Regions from separate parts of the Homo sapiens genome. Here all the other regions are linked to region 1. Evidence: promoter capture Hi-C in 16 types of primary human blood cells and fetal thymus (Javierre and others, 2016). All regions are on one chromosome and are shown on one strand. Each heading gives the region's core, a stretch centred on a gene start or on the middle of the fragment in contact. The rest is flanking DNA. Distances are from core to core; before and after follow the strand shown. Region 1 holds the start of PVT1 (Pvt1 oncogene). Region 2 overlaps CCDC26 (CCDC26 long non-coding RNA). Region 3 has its middle 45 kb from the start of CCDC26. Region 4 has its middle 15 kb from the start of CCDC26. Region 5 overlaps CCDC26 (CCDC26 long non-coding RNA). Region 6 overlaps CCDC26 (CCDC26 long non-coding RNA).

What was found. The method cuts DNA at HindIII sites, captures the fragments that hold promoters and counts their contacts. A CHiCAGO score of 5 or more calls a contact.
Region 2: a fragment that was not itself captured here is called in contact with the fragment with the promoter of PVT1 in region 1 in 1 of 17 cell types (erythroblasts); the score reaches 9.3 in erythroblasts.
Region 3: a fragment that was not itself captured here is called in contact with the fragment with the promoter of PVT1 in region 1 in 1 of 17 cell types (monocytes); the score reaches 6.6 in monocytes.
Region 4: a fragment that was not itself captured here is called in contact with the fragment with the promoter of PVT1 in region 1 in 2 of 17 cell types (erythroblasts and monocytes); the score reaches 7.1 in erythroblasts.
Region 5: a fragment that was not itself captured here is called in contact with the fragment with the promoter of PVT1 in region 1 in 1 of 17 cell types (neutrophils); the score reaches 5.1 in neutrophils.
Region 6: a fragment that was not itself captured here is called in contact with the fragment with the promoter of PVT1 in region 1 in 3 of 17 cell types (monocytes, erythroblasts and neutrophils); the score reaches 6.4 in monocytes.

What each region holds. Positions count from the first base shown.
Region 1 is chr8:127,792,698-127,796,118 of GRCh38, forward strand. PVT1 (Pvt1 oncogene) reads left to right here and starts at 1,827. Exons shown (of 9, transcript NR_190187.1): 1 at 1,827-2,037. MIR1204 (microRNA 1204) reads left to right here and starts at 3,265; the gene lies at 3,265-3,331. RefSeq lists enhancers at 237-807, 1,950-2,519, 2,520-3,091, 2,813-2,862, 2,963-3,302 and silencers at 1,533-1,582, 1,603-1,662, 1,673-1,832. The HindIII fragment of the contact is 6,547 bases long and covers 1-3,335 here.
Region 2 is chr8:129,546,925-129,550,283 of GRCh38, forward strand. The region is part of intron 1 of CCDC26 (CCDC26 long non-coding RNA); the gene reads right to left. Among named protein-coding and RNA genes, the nearest start is that of MIR3686, 64 kb to the left of the region's middle. RefSeq lists a silencer at 1,319-1,368 and an enhancer at 1,779-1,898. The HindIII fragment of the contact is 4,991 bases long and covers 1-3,359 here.
Region 3 is chr8:129,723,314-129,726,500 of GRCh38, forward strand. It overlaps a transcript of GSDMC not described here. Among named protein-coding and RNA genes, the nearest start is that of CCDC26, 45 kb to the left of the region's middle. The HindIII fragment of the contact is 1,474 bases long and covers 897-2,370 here.
Region 4 is chr8:129,694,159-129,697,193 of GRCh38, forward strand. No RefSeq gene overlaps it. Among named protein-coding and RNA genes, the nearest start is that of CCDC26, 15 kb to the left of the region's middle. The HindIII fragment of the contact is 2,455 bases long and covers 553-3,007 here.
Region 5 is chr8:129,567,545-129,570,902 of GRCh38, forward strand. All of the region lies in intron 1 of CCDC26 (CCDC26 long non-coding RNA), which reads right to left. Among named protein-coding and RNA genes, the nearest start is that of MIR3686, 85 kb to the left of the region's middle. The HindIII fragment of the contact is 5,467 bases long and covers 1-3,358 here.
Region 6 is chr8:129,673,269-129,676,513 of GRCh38, forward strand. The region is part of intron 1 of CCDC26 (CCDC26 long non-coding RNA); the gene reads right to left. Among named protein-coding and RNA genes, the nearest start is that of CCDC26, 5.3 kb to the right of the region's middle. The HindIII fragment of the contact is 3,102 bases long and covers 1-3,094 here.

The DNA.
Region 1 (3,421 bases), core at 577-3,076:
GCAGTGAAAGGATTAAGGTCTCACAGCTCCTATCGCATGATGTATAGATGCAGAGGTTTCTCATCATCTTCTTTTTATATTTTAAAAGATGGATGACAACTAGATGCCAACTGCAGCTCAGGCACCTGCCCAGTCCCTCTCAGAGCCGGGCACAAAACAGACACCTGTCTAGCCCCTCACAGAGAGCCAGGCACAAAACAGACACCTGTCCAGCCCCTCACAGAGAGCCAGGCACAAAGCGGAGACTTGTCCAGCTCCTGGCAAGGAGCCAGGCACAAAAGAGATGCCCATGAGTGTAAATGAATCTGTGAAACAGGCAGAACAGGAGCATCAACTGAGTAATTGTTTTTTCTTTTTCAAATAAGAACATTTGCGTTGAGAAGCCGCCACGGGAAGAGATGTGATGAAACACTACACAGAAAGAGGGAGGAGCCTCCGGGTAGGTTGGAGTGAGTAGGATGTAGGGTAGCCGGCAGGGGAGAAGAGGGGCAACCTTCTGTTCCGTAATATTGATACCACCCATTTGTGTGTCCAATTTTTGCTGGTTTGTGACGTCCTTCTAGGGTCCATGAGTAACCCCCACCCCATTGCCTAGCTGGGTGCCTGACTCCCCTTAAGTGCTCAGTAGACGTTGAACTGGACGGGCGCTGGCGTGGTGGCTCACGCCTGTAATCCCAGCAATTTGGGAGGCCGAAGCGAGTGGATCATCTCAGGTTCGGAGTTCGAGACCAGCCTGGCCAACATGGTGAAACCTTGTCTCTGCTAAAATTACAAAAATTAGCTGGGCGTGGTGGCGCGCGCCTGTGATCCCAGCTACTCCGGAGGCTGAGGCAGGAGAATCGCTTGAACCAGGCAGGCGGAGGTTGCAGTGAGCCATGATCGGGCCACTGCACTCCAGCCTGGGTGACAGAGTGAAACTTCATCTCTAAATAAATAAATAAATAAATAAATAAATAAATAAATAAAATAAACTTTGAACTGAACAGGGGCAGCTCTTACATCTGTCCAGTCTCGGGTTTATGCAGATAGAACAAGATAACCACATCCCACATGGGAGGCCAGTGTCCACTTGCTCCTTTGGAGGAACTACTGGGCATTTAAGGGACTCGTTGAACACACTCTGTAGGTCAACTCTGCCCGGAGTGGAGGGAGCTGCGCAGACCGCTGGCCCTCTGCACGGGTTTGCAACTCGGCTTCTGGAAACAGCGGGAGACGTCGAAGGAGGCGAGAAGGTGCGCGCGCCCTTCTCACCAGGCCGGCGGATGCTGGGTGGTACCCAAAGAGGCGCTCAGATCACTGGAGCTGGAGCTCAGTCGGCGGTCTTCTGCGGGAACTGCACCTATCCCGGAGCATCTCTGGCCCTCCTATTTCACTGAACTCGCCTTCCTCAGCAGGAAAGTGGGAAGACCGCTTGCTTCCAGGACGGTGTGGGGAAGGGTAAGAGGGCTCAGGGAAAGACCGTGGAAAGCTCGGCGCACAAGCGAGCTGGCATCACCGGGGATTCCCTCCGGCCCGGTGGGACTCCGGCGCGCTTGTAGCGAGGACCCCCAGCCCAGGGCAGAGCCTACCCTCCGCTCCCCCAGTCTGGGCCCTTGGCGGCCGCAGTCGCCCAAGCCCGCCCCGCCTCCGCGCGCGGCCCTCTCCGGCTCAGTGCCCTGCGCTGCCGGGAAGCAGGCTGAGGGGCGCACCGGGCGGCGGGCGGGGACCTGGGGAAGGCCGGGAGCGCCGGGACCGAGGACGCACGCGGCGGGCCGGGCCGCGCGCGCCTCCCCCCTCCCCCGAGGCCCGAGCGCGAGCCGCCGTGACGTCACGGGCAACCCGCCAGCCCCGCGCTCCTCCGGGCAGAGCGCGTGTGGCGGCCGAGCACATGGGCCCGCGGGCCGGGCGGGCTCGGGGCGGCCGGGACGAGGAGGGGCGACGACGAGCTGCGAGCAAAGATGTGCCCCGGGACCCCCGGCACCTTCCAGTGGATTTCCTTGCGGAAAGGATGTTGGCGGTCCCTGTGACCTGTGGAGACACGGCCAGATCTGCCCTCCAGTAAGTTCCAATTTTGTCCCCTGCGTTTCTGGAAACTCTCGAGACTTGGCCCTGAGTAGGGATGCGCTGTGAGTAGTCGGACGGAGGAAAGGGGCTTTCGGAATCCAATATGTGTGTGCTAGGCGTGCACTGTCCTCATCACCAGCCTCAAGACTGGTGGCGAGTTTGGGCGTTTGGGGAGGGTGAGGGGAGGGGGATGACACCGAATGGCCGGTGCATAGAGGCAATTCTGGATTTATGAACTTGATCAAAGGCATATTAACTAATTTCTAAAAATAGACCCCTCTGCAGTCAGAACAGATTTGGAGCCATGATGTGGTTTGGAGGCCCCTCTGGCGAAACTAGAGGTCTGTGAATGTGTGATCCTCCCTCCATCCTTTGACCATCACTCCCCGCTTCCTCTCACACCCCCTCAGGGCTGGGCGAAGGTGATTTCCAAAAACTCAGTAACTCCGTGTTTTGAGACTTTCTCAGTTTTTGCATCGCATGTGAGGGTTTGTTGGGTGCTCCTAAACCCTCATCATGGTCATTCTTCTTGGCTGGGCTGTTGATTTAATTAGGTTTGCCTTCTCTTGCTAACGTGCTCTTATTTATGCCAGTGTTTGTGGTTCTGGGTGTAGACTTTCAGGAAGCACAGCCATGAAGCTGCATGCGTCTGTGTGTGGATGCCTCATGCCTTTTCCTGGTGGTTTGCAGGCATGGAAGATTCTTCTGTTCATCTAAGCTCCTGACTTTAGGCCCTTCTAGAACATTAGAGAGGAGAAGAAATCACGTGCAAGGATTTAGGGACAAGAGGATGAGGTTTTGGTGTTTCCTTTCTGGTATTAGGTTTTCCAGAGAGAGGCTGTTAGCCTGTCTCTCGCCCACTCCACCACTGTGAATCCTGGCTACTGGGGCTAGTTCCTTGCTAGGAAAAAAAAACTCTAGAGAAATGTGTTTGTGTGTGGTGGGTGGGCGGGGGCCCTGAGGATGCAGGGACTGTGTCTGCTGTGTTGTCTGTTATAAGATGTTTCAGACCTATTTTGCATACTGGCAGCGACAAGTTGAGACTTGTTCAACTTGACACAGTCCTGTGGTCATAGCGAATCTTTCTAAAGCTCTGATCAGTCAAGAAGGGGGTTGTATCAATCCTCAGAACCCTGAGTGGAACTTTCTACAGGATTTATTAGGAGAAAAACCTTCCCGGAAGCTGCAGAAGGACAAATACAGAATCCGTGTCTGGGAGAAACCTCGTGGCCTGGTCTCCATTATTTGAGATGAGTTACATCTTGGAGGTGAGGACGTGCCTCGTGGTCTAAAGCTTCGGCACAAGGGCCCAACTGGAATTCCACTTACGGGTATGACTGTGGGGTATATGCTGTACCCATTGAATTCCCAGAGGGAT
Region 2 (3,359 bases), core at 81-2,580, 1.8 Mb after region 1:
TTCTGCTGGAGTTTCTACTCACATGAGAAAAGGAAGTGGCTTTCACATGCTTTTCAACTGCTCTCCCTTCCCCCACCCCCAGCACTCATGAATGGTTTCTCTCTTTTGCACGCATGTGTGTCTCTTCCTCATATACTGATTTCAGAGCTGCAGCCTAAGCGTCTTGTATTGTGCTGGTTATATTTAAACAATTCACTGTGCGAGGCAAGTGCCCAAACCAATTAAATAGAAATCTTCAAGAGTCCCAGGCAGAGAATAGAAATCAACAGTCAAGGTAGAGTTTGGACCAAAATGGTCATCAATTAGAGCTATTCTAAGATTGCTCTGACTATAGAAGAGTAAAATTGAGGGTGCTGAGAACAGGCAAATGTCTGAAAAGTGGGCACAAATTGTTAGCAAATGTGGCTCTCAGATATGCCACATAAATGCAGAGGCCAAGGCTAGTTGTCTTTGATTCATTGATTTACTAGCATTAATACACAAAATTATATGTGTGCCATACAGTGAATAGTAGATGCAAAGATGAGTAAGACACAGTGTATACCTTCAGGAAGCTCCCAGTTTAGTGGAGCTGAATGGGAAGCCAGTTAAGCATACTACATTGCAATAGCTGCTGAGACATATGAAAAATAAGGGAGCACTTCATTCTACCTTGGAGTAAAGACAGCCTTGACATGAAAGTCCAGCAGGATCTAGAAGGGTGAGTTAGGCTTTGTAAAATCAGGTAAACAGCTCATACAAAGACATAAAGGTGTGAAAATGAGGTAGGACTTGGAGAACTAGAAAAATAATTTGGCCAAATCTGAACACTTAAAGCTGAGATCCTTAGTTGATGATCTCTTTGTCACTCCCTCTTGCACTCAGGACAATGGTTTCAAAAGGCAGTTCCCTACTCTTGACAACAGAAAGGCTGGGGGGCAAACACTGTCTTCAGATAGTAAAGAGATACTGCTAATCAGCACATCAGGAAACCTATGACCCAACCATTGTTAAAAATGAAAGCAATTAGGTACAGTCCTTCTACAGGGAACTTCCTAAAATACATGTCTGAGATTATGAGCTTGTTCAGTTGCATGAGAAACAACAGGGAAAGCTAAACTTCTTTCCCAAGGCTGGCACTTACTTAGTTGAATGACCTTAGAAAGGTAAGAAACTCCCTGAATCTCTGTTTCTTAATCCATAAAGGGGGATGAGTACTTGTGTGATAATTCCCACTCCATAGGATTATTGCGAGAATTAAATATGACATATATAAGATGATCATGCACAGAGCCTAACACATGTAATGAACAAATGTGAGCCCCCTTACCTTCCTCCTGTCCCCTTCAGTCCTGGACTGAGTTCAATGCACACATCTTGCACAGAATAGATGTTCATATATTCTTGGTTTAAGTGCCTATCAACCTTCATATAATTCCACTGGGTCTACTGAAAGATGGCAGAAGACGGACAGTCATAGTGTTTACTATGGGCCAAATCCTTCTCCCATATTTGCTCCTTTAATTTTCCCAATTCAATGAAGTAGCTCAGTGAAGTAGCTCAATGATGTAGCTCGGTGAAGTGCCCCACTTTGCAGTTGACAAGTTCTAAGGCTCAGAGTTGAAGTGACATCCGAGGTCATTCAGCTAGTGACATGGCAGAGTTCTGTGCCTACCGTGATAGTCGGACTCTCCAAAAGTGGCCACTTCCTGAGATGAGGCTGAGGTTATCTCAGTCACCTATACAAACCAGATCTGGATATGGTTATGACTTGTACCGGAGTGGCATTGTCTTGAACCTTGCTCAATTACATCTGCCAGTATGTCCTGCATATCAGATCCAACGTCCACGTGACTTGCTCTGTTTAAGGTGGTATTTCTGGAACTTTTTTATTAATGATAAACAACAAGAAGAATTCTCATGATACTGAAAGAGTCTGTGAGGAAGTGGCCTAAGCAATAATCTATAGGCTTTCTTAATATCCTACATGAGTACAAAAACAAACAAACAAACAAAAACACAGAAAATCAACCAAATGAGTTGGATATGACACAGTTAAAAATGTGCAAAATGTCCTTGTTTCTCAGTATCAGTCATTTTGGGGCCACTTTGGGGAGGTTTTGTGCCTTTTTTTAAACTTCCAGATTTCATACTTTCTGTTCAGCTTTTGCAACTTCCCATGAGTACAGTTATAAAGAAAATAGAAAAAAACAGAACCTCAGCCCTCCTGTATCACTTTTAAGAAGGTGCCTCTTGCAGAAGAAAATTTGGGCCATAAAAAGCCCTTACAGGTTTGCTTTAGCTCTCCCCTTCAAGAGCATTATTTTTCTTCTTTTTTTTTTTTTTTTTATCTTTTATTTTTTTCTGGTAAGTAAGTAGTCTTCGGATGATCGGCGTTGCATATCTTTGGGAAAAATTCATGCCAGACTAGTCAAATCATAACGGCTGCTATCATCAGTTCGCTATGGTTTCCAAGTCACTCTCCAACACAGAAACCACACATACACACAACTACATAAGTCTCCTCTAATTTTGACATTGGAAATATCCATTTCAAAGTTTTTAGGTTAAAAATGAACATAATCACAAAATAGCATCTGATCATCACAAATCTAAAATAGAATCCAGATCATGCAGTGTACAATGCTCATTGACTACGCCTTTCCATTTCTTAGCACACAGAAATAAACTCTGGATGTCTGCATGGCACACTACTTATGGTGGTCTACCTACTGTAAGCAGCTGGCAGCTTTGGTCACTCGATATGAACCTCCCAAGCAAAATTACTGCAGTGTGCCATTTACCTGGAAAAAAAGAAATGTGCCTTCTTCTTGTTCTACCACTGACTACCTGAGAAACATTGTGTTAATCCCCCACACTGAGAAACTCTCTCTTTAGCTTTCATCTGAAAATATTTCTAACATGCATTACTATACATTACTTTATCTTCTTGAAAAAAGCCATGCGAAATATTGTCTTTTCTGAAAAATGCGGTCATCATTTCATTTAATTCAACAATTAGTGTATTCAAGTATATTCAATTTAGAATATTTGAGGGCCACTGAGTGATGACAAGCACTAGAGGTGCAGAAGTGAAAGACATTGCCCCTTATTGTGTAGTTTTGTGGCACTATCTAATACGGTGCTTCCTAACCAATGTGTTGGGACACATGGGACAGCTGTGCCAAGATGTTGATCCACTTAGTACTCAGGGAGGCTGGATAGGGCTGAGCTGGCCAGAGCCCAAGGATAGTGAACTCTGCAGAGAGCAACCTCTTCTATTTGTCCTAGTGTACTGAACAAATAGCAGCTCTTCCATGACTGCCATACTGTGACAAAGGTTAGGAAGAACTTTACTAAGATTATTGGCATGTCCAGGG
Region 3 (3,187 bases), core at 384-2,883, 1.9 Mb after region 1:
CACTGCAACCTCTGCCTCCCGGGTTCAAGCTATTCTCATGCCTCAGCCTCCTGAGTAGCTGGGATTACAGGCATGTGCCACCACGCCTGGCTATTTTTTCTTCTCCTTTTTTTTTTTTTTTTTTTTGTATTTTTAGTAGAGACAGGGTTTCAACATCCTGGTCAGATTGGTCTCGAACTCCTGACCTCATGATCCACCCGCCTCGGCCTCCAAAAGTGCTGGGATTACAGGCATGAGCCACCGCGCCTGGCCGCATCTAGCAGTTTTTTACTGCTTGGGAAACCTAGTGAATTTTAATGCCATTGATCAACTCTGCTCAAACACTCCTGGCATGAACTGAGCAAAGCCCTGGTTCCTAGGCAGCCATTACAAAAGCACAAGGATTTCCAAAATAAAAAGAGACCCAGAGCACACTTGAATCAAGGGCAGTTGCACTGTTTATTTGCAAGTGATTGGATTGCACCCCTACCTTGGTTAAATGGTTTATTTCTCTATGAATTACTCTAGAAAATACTACTACTCTAGCCCTTCCAATTTTTAACTAAGCTGAAAGTATTTTTACTTTTTCCAGACTCTCAGTGAGGAAAGAATGAGGTATGTTTTAATGCTGGAACTTCTAGCAAATAGTAAGTGTTCAATAAATACTTGTTGAATTAACTAATTAATTAATATGTGGGCACAAAAGCTTGCTTTTGCATCCTAAAGCAATCATGGCCTCTGGGGAAAGCCAGGCTTGCTGTATCCTGAGGCAATCACTCACTCTGGAGAAATCCAGCCTCCATGTTGAGAGGGCACTCAAGCCATCTATGGAGAGACCACATGGTTAGGAACTAAGGCCTCCTGCCTACAGCCATGCAAGACAGCCATCTTCAAAACAGATCCTCCAGCCTCAATTAAGCTTTCAGGTGACTATAGCCCTTGCCAACATCCAACTGCAGTCACATGTAAGACCCTAAGCCAGAACCAGCCAGGTAGGCCATTCCCAAATTCTTAACCAGCAGAAAGAGGAAAATATAAGTTAAATGTTTATTATTTTAAGCCATTACGTTTTGGGGGTGATTTGTTATGCAATAGATAATACAATCTATTTGTTTATCAATAGATTATATTGATAACACAATAGATAATACAATAACAATTTGTTTGCAATAGATAATACAATCTTCTTTCACCTTGTCTGAGATGACAGCTTATTAAAATACAAACTCCTGGAAGGCAGGTTTTCTGTCTTATTCCCTCCTGTATTCCTGGTATCTTGTATGCATCCAATAAACAATGAGTAACAACTCACTTAATGACAAGCTGGTTCCTAATTTTGTATAGAAAACTATATATGTTCACACACAGAAACAGAAGTAGAATTCTTCAAAAAAATGATACTTTTTAGCGAAAAAGCGTTAGATAGCATAATTATCCAAAAAGGAACTATTGGAAATTATGGAAAAAAATGTTATTAGAATTCACATAATCCTCCTCCCTTACTGGGGTGGGAGGGAGCTACCTATAGAAGGAATACAGGGCCTTGAAGTATTCAAAGAAATAACAATTAACAAAGGGCATAGTTTGAGGAGCCCAGCTTCTCATGAGAAGAAAAAGGCATTGCAAGGTGGCACAGAGGGACTAAGATCTCAAGCTCTACTTGGAGGTTTTCTTGAAGTGCTCCTGAAGCAATATCATAAAAGGAATTTGAGAATACAAGGCCAGTTGAACAAGTTAACCCTTCAGCCCCTTTCTAACTTGAGCTGTTGTGATTGCTCCTGTCCTCTGCTAGCCTGAGAAAGCTCAAGAGGAAGACCATGGGGCCACCATTTTCCACATTCACATTCACACATGCCCTCTCTCCATCAAGTATCTTATTAGACTATCTGTTGGAGTACAGGCTAAATAAGTGTCCTCAAATAAGTGATGGTGAATAATGGCAGCACGTCCCTGTCCTGTTCCCTGACAATAAAGCTGGTATAGATTAAAGGCAAGATTTATCCTCCCTGGAACCTCAGGTAATGAACTGACTACCTGTATTCAAATCAAAGACACACTCATGCGTTCTTTTCTTTCTAACAGCTCAATTTCCAGAGTTGATATTGTGTACTCTGCCACATGCTGTGAGGTATGTAAGAAAAGTGGCATGTGGCCTGGCATCTCAGTTACTTATCACCCCCCTCCAGAGCCAGGGAGCAGTTTCAAATGTGTTCGATTGCCCAAGATCTAAAAATTAAAAATAGTAATTTAAATGTCCCAGATCAGAAAATCATATTCTTCTCTTCTTTCCATTTGTTGCTTTTGAGTCTCGCCACGACCACAATATCAGGTACACAGCAGGCCTCTAAAACTCAATATTACTATTGCTGTTAGTTCCATTGATTCAAGAAAAGCTTGTTGGGCATCAACTATGTGCTAGCACTATACTAGGTTCTTTATATACACTATTTAATTTATGTCAATAGCAATCCAATGCGCTGGGGAAAATGAAGCTCAAAGATTTTGAATTATTTACCGGAGGTTGCAAAGTTAGGGATCGGCCCAACTCCAAACCCAGGTTTTTCTGGTTAGCCCTGCTGCCCTAATCAATACAGTCTTTTAAATGAAGAAGAACTTTGTATCCACCAAGATAATGAATCCCAAGATTCTCACCACCCCTGCTTTCTTATGTGTTAACCAAGATTCCAATGTTTTGAAAGACTTTAATTGCCTGGCTGAATTTATTTAAAGAGAATATTCCTCTGCTTATGGAAAAATATTTGAAACTCCCAACCCAGGTCTTTGCTCAACATGAGACAATCAGATTTATCACAGAATCCATAATGATCCTAGCATAAGCAGTTGACATTTTACCAAGGCATGGCTTTTCTGAAATATTGACAATTGTTCTAAGTTCCTCATCATTCTGGTCTTACCTCCCAGAGATTTTTAAGGGAGACATTTAATACAATCAATGTAGTGTTTCAAGAAGGAGGTTCTATTCTGATATTAATATAAAAGGAGACCAGTGTTAGGCCCTCAGTTGATGCCCCACTTCTCCCAGCCCACTCCATGTTAACCCAGCAAGGAGAAAGACATGGAAGAGGGGAGGCAGGAGGGCAGGGTGTGAGAGAGAGGAGATGGCCTTGAATTCAGTAGGTCCGGAAGCATATAAAGGAGAGTGGCAGGCAGCACCAAGCATCCTGCTGTTTGACAATGCTGCCACCTT
Region 4 (3,035 bases), core at 530-3,029, 1.9 Mb after region 1:
ATTATCTTCAGAATCCTAGAAGAGATATTTTACATTTATTAAGAGTTATGAAGCCCTTAATACATGGTATCTTAACTGTTTCTTTATTTTTATGTAAAAAATATATATAAATGAAGATGAAGAAGATACTTGGTCCCCAAGGAGTTCACAGGCTACTAGGGGGGCCGGACATGTAATTTGTCAATTCCAAATGCTGTGTTCTCATACATCCTCACCTGTGGGGTAAGCATTATGATTTGCATTTGACAAGGAAACATTAAGATGCTCAGAAACATTAAGTTTTTTGCTCAAACCACAGAGCTAGTGAGTGCCAGACCTAGAAGCCAGGTCTCCTGAATCCTGGGACAAAAGGTGTTCCACCAGCTGTCCTCCTGCCTTCTGGACTTGGCCTGCTTTTCAATTCTTGCATTTGAAAGCAGACAGGTCCAGAATTCTGGGAAAACACACTATTCACCAGGAGTGACTCTGGCAGGACCAGGAGGTGGTCTTGCTTCAGGAGTCTGACACCCTTCTCCCTGTTCCAAGCTAGGTACTAACTCATTCTGAGAGGGAAGCTTGGGCGACAGCTGTGAATGCCCATTCTCACCCCCACTGAGCTGGTTTTCACATCTTTCCTGGGTCAAGGGATTTTAGAGGGCTTGTGCTGAAGAGGTTTCCTTTGAATGTCAGCAACCATCTGAGGGGAGAATGTTGGCCATTAGCCAATGACTCCAGGTCTACTCTACTTGGTTATGTCAACACTCCAAAGAGAAGATAAGTTCTGGATGGATGCAGTGGCTCACGCTTATAATTCCAGCACTTTGGGAGGCTGAGGTGGGTGTGGGTGTTCAAGACCAGCCTGGGCAACATGACAAAACCCTGTCTCTACAAAACACACACACACAAAAATTAGCTGGGCACAGTGGTACATGCCTGTAGTCCCAGCTACTGGGGAGGCTGAGATGGGAGGATCACTTGAGCCAGGGAGGCAGAGGTTGCAGTGAACAGAGATCACACTACTGCACTCCAGCCTGGGTGATAGAGTAAGATCCTGTCTCAGAAAAAAAAAAAAAATGTTCTGACTTAGAAACTGCTCCCCCAAGAGCCAACTTGATGAGCACCTATGAACAAGTTTTCTATACTGCAAAGCACAAACCTTTGAACTCACAAAACCATGTTATTTGGGGCAAGTTACTCAAATTCTTTGAACCTTACCTTCCTAATCTGAAAAATAAATTCTTATGATACTTGTGAAGATTGAATTTGATGAATCATATACCACCTTGTATCATGTGATAGCTCTCACCATCATCCTCTGGTTTTTTAACCTTCATTTTCCTTCTCTATTTCTTACTCCATCTTTCTCTTGGTCCTTATCTCATTCTGTTATTTTTTGGACATTTCTCATATTGTGAAGGTCCTTTAGGTTCAGATCATCTCCTCTGGAGAGTAACTTCCCACCTCCCTGTGGTCAGCATGCAGGAGAGTCCAAAATAAAGCACAATTAGAATTTCCTGGAAGAGTTGAGAACAGGGAATTTTTAACTCATTCTTGACAATAGAGTGGAAGGTTTCTGGTTTGAGGAACATGCAAGGGCTCTCTGAGCATAGTGTTGGGGTGCCCCATTTACGTAGTGGATCTTGAGAGAGGAGTTGGGCCATGGAGCTGGGCAGAGGAAGATGAGACTCACAAAGTTTCACAGGGCCATCATGGAAGCTCTAGCTAGCACCTGGAACGCCCTCCCATGGCTATGGAAGGAGTTTAAGCACAAGAGTGTAATATCACATCTGTGTTTGATGAAGATGAATCCCATGCTGGCCATGGGAAGGATGGATAGGAGACAAGAGAAGCTAGAGACAAAGACACCAATTAGGAGGTTTTTAAAGTGAACGCTCACAACCATGGCAAGGCAGAGAGCCCAGACTAAGGCAAAAGACAATGAGGATAGACATATGGCAATGGATCAAGAGTCACACCTAAAACACCAACACCACACACGGGACTTGGCAATTGATTTATGCAGGAGGCAATAGAAAGAGCATAAAAATGCTCCTGAGGTTTCCAGCTCGGGAGGTGAGGTTTCCAGTGTCCCTGTTAAGAGAGATTTGGAATGCCAGAGACACACCCACAACAGGAAGAAACAATGAATTTAGTTGGTGACATGTAGTGTTTGAGTTATTTATGGGACATCCCGGTGATGTCCAAAAGGTGTGCAGCAAGTGGATCTGGAGTGGAACCGAGACATCTGGATTGGAGATATAGTTTGGGGGCCATTTGGCATGAAGGTAATAAGATAATATATGAGTGAATAAGAACACCATTAGGATAGAGTCCCTACTTTAAAAAATAAAAGTAAAAAAGCTGAAACACTGGCATTTAGAGAAAGACAAGCCAGCCAAGGAAAGCAGGAAGGAATGGACAGAGAGAGGGGAGAAGAAGTAGGAAAGACTGAGAGGGCCGGGTGAGGGTAAAAGGAGGAGAGAAAGCAGCCATATGGCAGTTATGCAAATTCATATGTTGAAATTCATAGAACTGTACACCAAAATAAGTCAAATTTTTGTACAATAGTTTTAAAAAATAAAATTAATAAAATACCAAAAGAAGTTCTTTATGAACCTACTTACCAGTGGAGGAAACCACTGTCAATACTTTGGCAGATTTCCTTCTAGTCTTTTCTATTATACACTTTTTGAAATGAAATTATATGTGCTATTAACAAGTACAAATGTCACCTTTCTCAATTTATATTAAATTGTTCTAAAATTCCATGTGTTAAATAAATAAAGTGGTACAAATACGGGAAAGGAAGGAAGGAAGGAAGGAACGAAGGAAGGAAGGAAGGAAAGAAGGATTGGAGGGAGGTGGGAGAGAGGGAGGGAGGGAAGGAAGGAGGAAGGGAGGGAAGGAGGGAGGGAGGGAGGGAGGGAAGGAAGGAGAAAAGGATCATAGATATTGCTGAACCCAGCAGAAGGGAAAGGTATGAGAAGAGGATATGGTTTCTTTCAAATTCATTTTAAATCTTACCTAAAGCTTGGACATATACATCCATTTAGAAA
Region 5 (3,358 bases), core at 531-3,030, 1.8 Mb after region 1:
CAATTACAATGAGTAAATTTTGTTAGGAAATTATAGCTCAATAAAGCAATCAAAACAAAACACACACACACAGGCACAAACATATTTCATGTATTTTTAATCCAGGTTCATAGGAAAGTGCTTGACAATAATGCCATGTAGCTGCCTTATACTGATCATCTCCTTAAGAGCCAGCTACTTTTATCCCTGTTCCTGAAAGCCACCTTCAGAGAGAAATCATAGTAACCCAGGGACACGCAAAGAAGCCAGCTGAGTTAGGAATGGAACACAATTGGGCCTACCTCTAAATCCTATACACAATTTATCTCATCATACCCACTGATATAGAAAGAATCCATTGCCCCAGATTCACATGGTGTAGTCAAAGTAATAAACTAGATTCACCCTGCACCTGCTTATCTTTCTTGCTGTTGTCAGACCCCGCTACCCTGATCTCCTGGCCACCATCTTGGGATGATCCCGCAAATCAAGGTTGATCGTGTCATTCCGGTGCTCAAAAGGGTGCCCTGGTGCTGAAACCTTGGCTTGGGCCCTTCCCAACCTGGCTCCAGCCCCCAGCATCTAGGGCATCCTTGCTCACTGTTTCCCCATACCACTGTGCACTGCTTTTCTCTGAACTTCTCACCTGTCTTTGAAGTTGATGGCCATTTTCACATTGCTTTGTCTTTGTCCGTGAGGTTCCTCTCACCTGAAATGCTTGACTTTTCCTTGCCACTGCCACATATCAGCTAACTCCTGCTCTTATTTTAACATCATGAATATCTATCATTCTCAGTGAGCCTTCTACTGCTTCTCCGAGAGAAGTTAATTGTTCCAAGCAGGTTTTATACACTATGTTTATTTTCTTCATTCTCTTTAATAGCATTTTAAAACATGCCCCCAGTTTAAGTCTAGTGCGTTTGTCATATTTTCTTCATAACCATAGCATATACCATTAAAGGATTACTTGGATTCAGTTCTGATCTTAAGATTCCATCATTTATTAGCTCTGTGACCTTGGGAAAGTTTATGTAAACTCTTGACATCAGTTTTCCCAATTATGAAATGAGACCAATGAAAGCACATACCTCAAAGATACTTATAAGAATTAAACAATCTAATAATCATTAATGAAAAAGCATATTTTCCAGTCCATCAAAAGTGCTTAAAAAATGTTAAATAATAATACTAATTTTTACCAGTATAGCAAAGGCTCAATAAATGTGAATCGAATAAGGGAGAGAGAGAAGATACAGGAAAGAAGTAAAGAAGGGAAGGGGAAGAAGAAGCTCCTTGAAAAAATGGATAAGAGCTTATGATTTAGCATCAGGCAATATTGAATCTTTGCCTTGCTATTGTAGATTGGGTAATCTTGGACAAGTTATTTGAACTCCACATGTTTCAACATGAAGGTAAGTATACCACTGGATAACACATATAAAGCACTTAGCACAGTATCTAGCCTGCAGTAAGTCATGTTAAAGAAGAAAAAGAAACAAAGGTTTGTGAAAAAGAAAAATCCTCTTGCTTAATCTTTTTTATTCATCTTTGGCAAAGGTCACCTAAATAATTTCTTAACCATTCTGCCTTTATATGCTGTTTGGATACTGCCTAGAAATCCAGGATTCCAAGGTGGTTGAGAGAAGTGGGTTATGAACAATGATGATCCAGTCTCACTTTCACCTCTACCTGATATACAAAATTCCCTTCCAACATGGTCAACTCCAGTGAATCTTCACTATTTTGATCTTTAGCTACTTTCTCATGAGAATATTATTAAAAGCAGAGAGGAAATAACTAAATGGAAAAAGATTAGCCAAGAAGCAATGAAGAAATTCTCAACAAAATATTTAGCAAGCCACGTAAAAAGGATTAAACACCTTGGCCAAGTGAGATTTATCACAGGAATGCAACATTGTTTTGACAACAAAAATCAAAAAAAAATACATAATCATCTCAATAGACACAGAAAACACATTCAACAAAATCCAGTGTGCATTCATGATTTCAAAACTTGGAATAGAAGGAAAATTTCTCATCATGATAAAGAGCATCTACAAAAAATTTACAGCTAACACCACACTTAATGCTAAAAAGACTATATGCTTTCCCCCATAAGATTCAGAATAAAGCAAGGACGTCTGCTTTGGCACTTCTATTCAACATTGTACTACAGGATCTAGCCAGTGAAATCAGGCAAGCATATAAAATAATGGGCACCCAAGTAGCAAGGAAGAAGATGACAGGATTTTGTATGTAGAAAATCCAAAGGATCCATTAAAAATACTGGAAATAACAAGTTTAGCAAGGTCACATGATAGAAGATAAATTCACAAAAATTGACTGTATTTGTACAAGCAATGAACAATCTGAAAATGAAATTAAGAAAAAATTCAGTTCACAATGACATCAAAAGAATAAAATGGAAAGTATTTTAACAGATGATGAACAAGACTTGCACACTTAAAATCACAAAACATTCTTGAAAGAAAGAATATCGGCTGGGCACGGTGGCTCACGCCTGTAATCGCAGCACTTTGGGAGGCCGAGGCGGGAGGATCACGAAGTCAGGAGATCAAGACCATCCTGGCTAACACGGTGAAACCCCATCTCTACCAAAAATACAAAAAATTAGCCGGGCGTGGTGGCGGGCGCCTGTAGTCCCAGCTACTCAGGAGGCTGAGGCAGGAGAATGGCATGAACCCGGGAGGTGGAGCTTGCAGTGAGCTGAGATCGCGCCACTGCACTCCAGCCTGGGTGACAGAGCGAGACTCCGTCTCAAAACAAAACAAAACAAAACAAAAAACAAAAACAAAAAGAAAGAATATCTAAATATATGAAAATATGCCCCATGTCCATGTATTGAAGACTCAATAGTGTTGAGATGATGATTCTACCCAAATAGATGTACAGATTCAATGAAATCCCTATCAATTCCCAGCTGGGCTTTTGGCAGAAATTGACAAACTAATCTTAAAATTCACATGGAAATGCAAGGGAACCAGAATAGCCAATTTTCAAAAATGAAAACAAAATTAGAGGACTTACACTTCTCAATTTGCATATTTCCTATAAAGCTAAACTAATCAAGACAATGTGGTACTGGTATAAGCATAGACATATAGATCAATGGATAAACCCTTACAGACAATAGATTTTCAACAAGGGTGTCAAGAAAACTAAATGGGAAAGAAGTTTATTTTTCACCAAATAATTCTGGAACAGTTGAATATTCACATGCAAAAAGATTAATTAGGACACCTACTTCATACCACACACAAAAACATACTCAAAATTGACTACAGGCCTACATGTAGGTACTCAAAACTATAAAACTCTTAGAAGAAAACACAAGAGAAAAGTCTTCATGATTTGGGGT
Region 6 (3,245 bases), core at 294-2,793, 1.9 Mb after region 1:
ACCTACTGAGTCTTCTCTACTTCTTGCTAGTTGTTGTCTGCCAGGCTCTCTGGATTTTATGCAGCTTGCCTGAGCAAAACCTTGCAGCCCCTTCCTCTTCACACTTTTAAAATTTTCTGTATCTAATCTGCTATGTCTTAGGAAACCAGATTGCCAAGTGAGGACTGTTTCTAAGAATAAATAAGTTCTATTCCAAAGCCAGAAACACGTTGCTGTATTCCATGGGATTTTTTTTTCCTTAGAGAAAGAGTCTCCCTGTGTTGTTCAGGCTGGTCTTGAACTCCCGGGTCCAAGCGATCCTCCCACCTCACCCTCCTGAGTAGCTGGGATTACAGGCTCAAGCCACCACACACCTGGCCCTCCACTGACTTTTTGACATTGACACCGTCATCGTTAAGTCTTTTTTTTTGCCCATTTCCTGGTTCTCCATGTTTGTCACAAAGCTGACAAGTGGCCTTTGAATAAGGAACGTCTTATCAACATCCCAGTACATTGCTGGGAGTGATCTTCAGCGCTGGCTCATTAAACTGTTCAGACTAATGTTCACATCTGGTCTCACACCTCAGGGGCACTTTGCAGAAGGTTACTCTCTCCTTTTCTGCCTTCTTAGCAAAACTGAATTATTTCAGGACAGAAATATGTTGAGGTAGGCACAATCTTGTCATCCTGCAAAAAGGAGCCATTCTTAATCAGGGTCATCTCAGCTTCTGTAAGTTTCCAGGGTTTTCTCTCATGGACAACTCAAAAAGGACATCCATTGGTCTGCATCCCCCCACAGGCCAGGGTGTGTATATGCTGAAGAATATAAAAGTATCCTCCCTGGAAAAAGCATAATTGACCCTTCAGGAAAAATTATAAGGGGAATGTGTTTGGGACTAGTAATGATGAAGGGAGGGAGGAGATCAATTTTTTATTGTTTTTTAATTTATTTATTTATTTATTTATTTATTTTTGAGACGGAGTCTCACTCTGTCGCCCAGGCTGGAGTGCAGTGGTGCAATCTCGGCTCACTGCAAGCTCCGCCTCCCGGGTTCATGCCATTCTCCTGCCTCAGCCTCCGGAGTAGCTGGGACTACAGGCGCCCACCACCACGCCTGGCTAATTTTTTGTATTTTTAGTAGAGACAGGGTTTCACCGTGTTAGCCAGGACGGTCTCGATCTCCTGACCTCGTAATCCGCCCGCCTCAGCCTCCCAAAGTGCTGGGATTACAGGCGTGAGCCACCGCACCCAGCCGGAAATCAATTTTTTTCAGCATTCACTGTGTGTTAGACTCTCCAATCTCAGTTTCAGCTTCACTCTGAATCTTTCCTGAATGCAATCTGCAATTCTTCCATTTGCAATTAATTCTTCCTCTCATTTGCCCTCCCTGTCATCTGTAAACCCAAACCACTAGGATGCCTTCTTAAATTTATGTATTCAATACTCTGACTCTCCCACTAGTCTCTGAGCCCCTTTGAAGGATAAGAATTGGATCTTGGTCATCATTGCATTCCCAGAACCAGCACAGTGCCAACATACATAGATGTTTAATTAATGTTTAAATTCTGGAAAGAAGCATGCTTTCGTAAAACTTAAGCTGCCTCCTTGTTTCGTTTACTTGGTCTAAGCAGCCTGGATGAGTTAGTAACTCGGAGCGCAGATCTTCTGGTTACTATTGTCTTCAAGCCCTTCTTCTATCTTCTGATTTTTAAGAAAATCTTTCCTGGAATGATTATCATGAGCTACTATAATTCAATGTCAATGAATTAGGTTTGAATGCCTGAAAGACTCTTGAAATTTTATAGGGGACAGAAAACAGAAGAACCTAACTTTTATTTCATCTCCTCTGTTTACAAGCCTTGTGACCTCAGACAAATAGCTTGAATTCTCAGAATCCTAGGGGTTTGTTTCACTGTAAAATAGAGATAATTATATCTTCCCTAACCTTACAGAATTGAGAGGATCTTATTAGCTAACAAGTGCTAAAGCCATTTGTGATAACTAAAATTTTATATAGCTACAAAGGATTATCACTCTATAAATCATGGGTAAAGCTAAACAAATCAATAATTTGCCCAAGGGTATGGAAAATGGCAAAATGAGATTCTTGAACCAAGTCTTCATCTCTATCATACTGCTGTCTCACCTACAGCCCCTGTGGGGGTAGAAGGGAATGAAAAGGAGAAAAGATGGTACACAGCAGAGAGGCTCTGAATCTCACTGTTTTGCCTTATCTCATAACTTTGCCCCCATCTGCCCCACTCTCCAGTTAACTTCTCAAAGAATCATGCCATGCAACCAAATGGACACAAAGCTACCATGCACAAGGACCATCTCTTCTTCCAGGATAATGGGCACCAGGCCAGGATGGAGAGACCAAAGCCAGTACATATTTGCATGGTCCATTCACCCTTCATTATGACGAACTCTTCTCTCAAGGGTCAAGATGTGAGCATTCATCTTTTTGGGTTCTTCAACTATTAGTACTTGGACTCTCCACAGGTCATATATCATGGCACTGAAGGCAGCAGGTACAGACAAAAGTTGTCACTTGTATTGATATGGTGTGAAGAGGATGATTAATGGAAGTCACACATGACCGCCCAGCTTCTAACTTACCCAAGCTCACTGGAAGTGCTGACTTCGTTATTCTTCATGAGCCACCTTTCCCACCCCGTTCCCCACTGCTGCTTTCAATAATAACATCAGCTTTAGGAGTCTTATTTTGATGGAAGGGAGGGAAAAAGTCATCACCCAAACCATGCCAGTGTGTCTGACAAGCCTGCATGGGTGACTTTCTATTCTCTCATTTCTGCGGCTTTTGTTGAATTTGAAATTCATTCACTCATTCAACAAATATTTAGGATTTCCTACTCTCAGTGCTTGGGGATACAGCAGTAAGTAAAACAGACAAAAATCCATGCCCTGGTGAACCTTACATTCTTGTAATAGAAGACAGGTGTTTCTAAGTAAATTGTAAAGTATGCGACAGGGTGTCAAGTGTGATGGAGAACACAGAGCAGAGAATCGGGGAAGTACCAGGGTAAGGGATTTGTTGCAATTTTAATCAGAGCAGTCAAAGGAAGCCTCATTGATCAGGTGACGTTTGAGCAAAGCTTGAAAGAGGTAAAAGGATTAGCCGAGCAGCTATCTGAAAGAAGAGAACTCAAAAGATGGGAAATGACCATTGCAAAAGCCTGAAGGTGGAAACAAGTCCAAATTGCTTGAAGAATAGCAACAAAGCAAGTGTGGCAGGAGAAGCAAG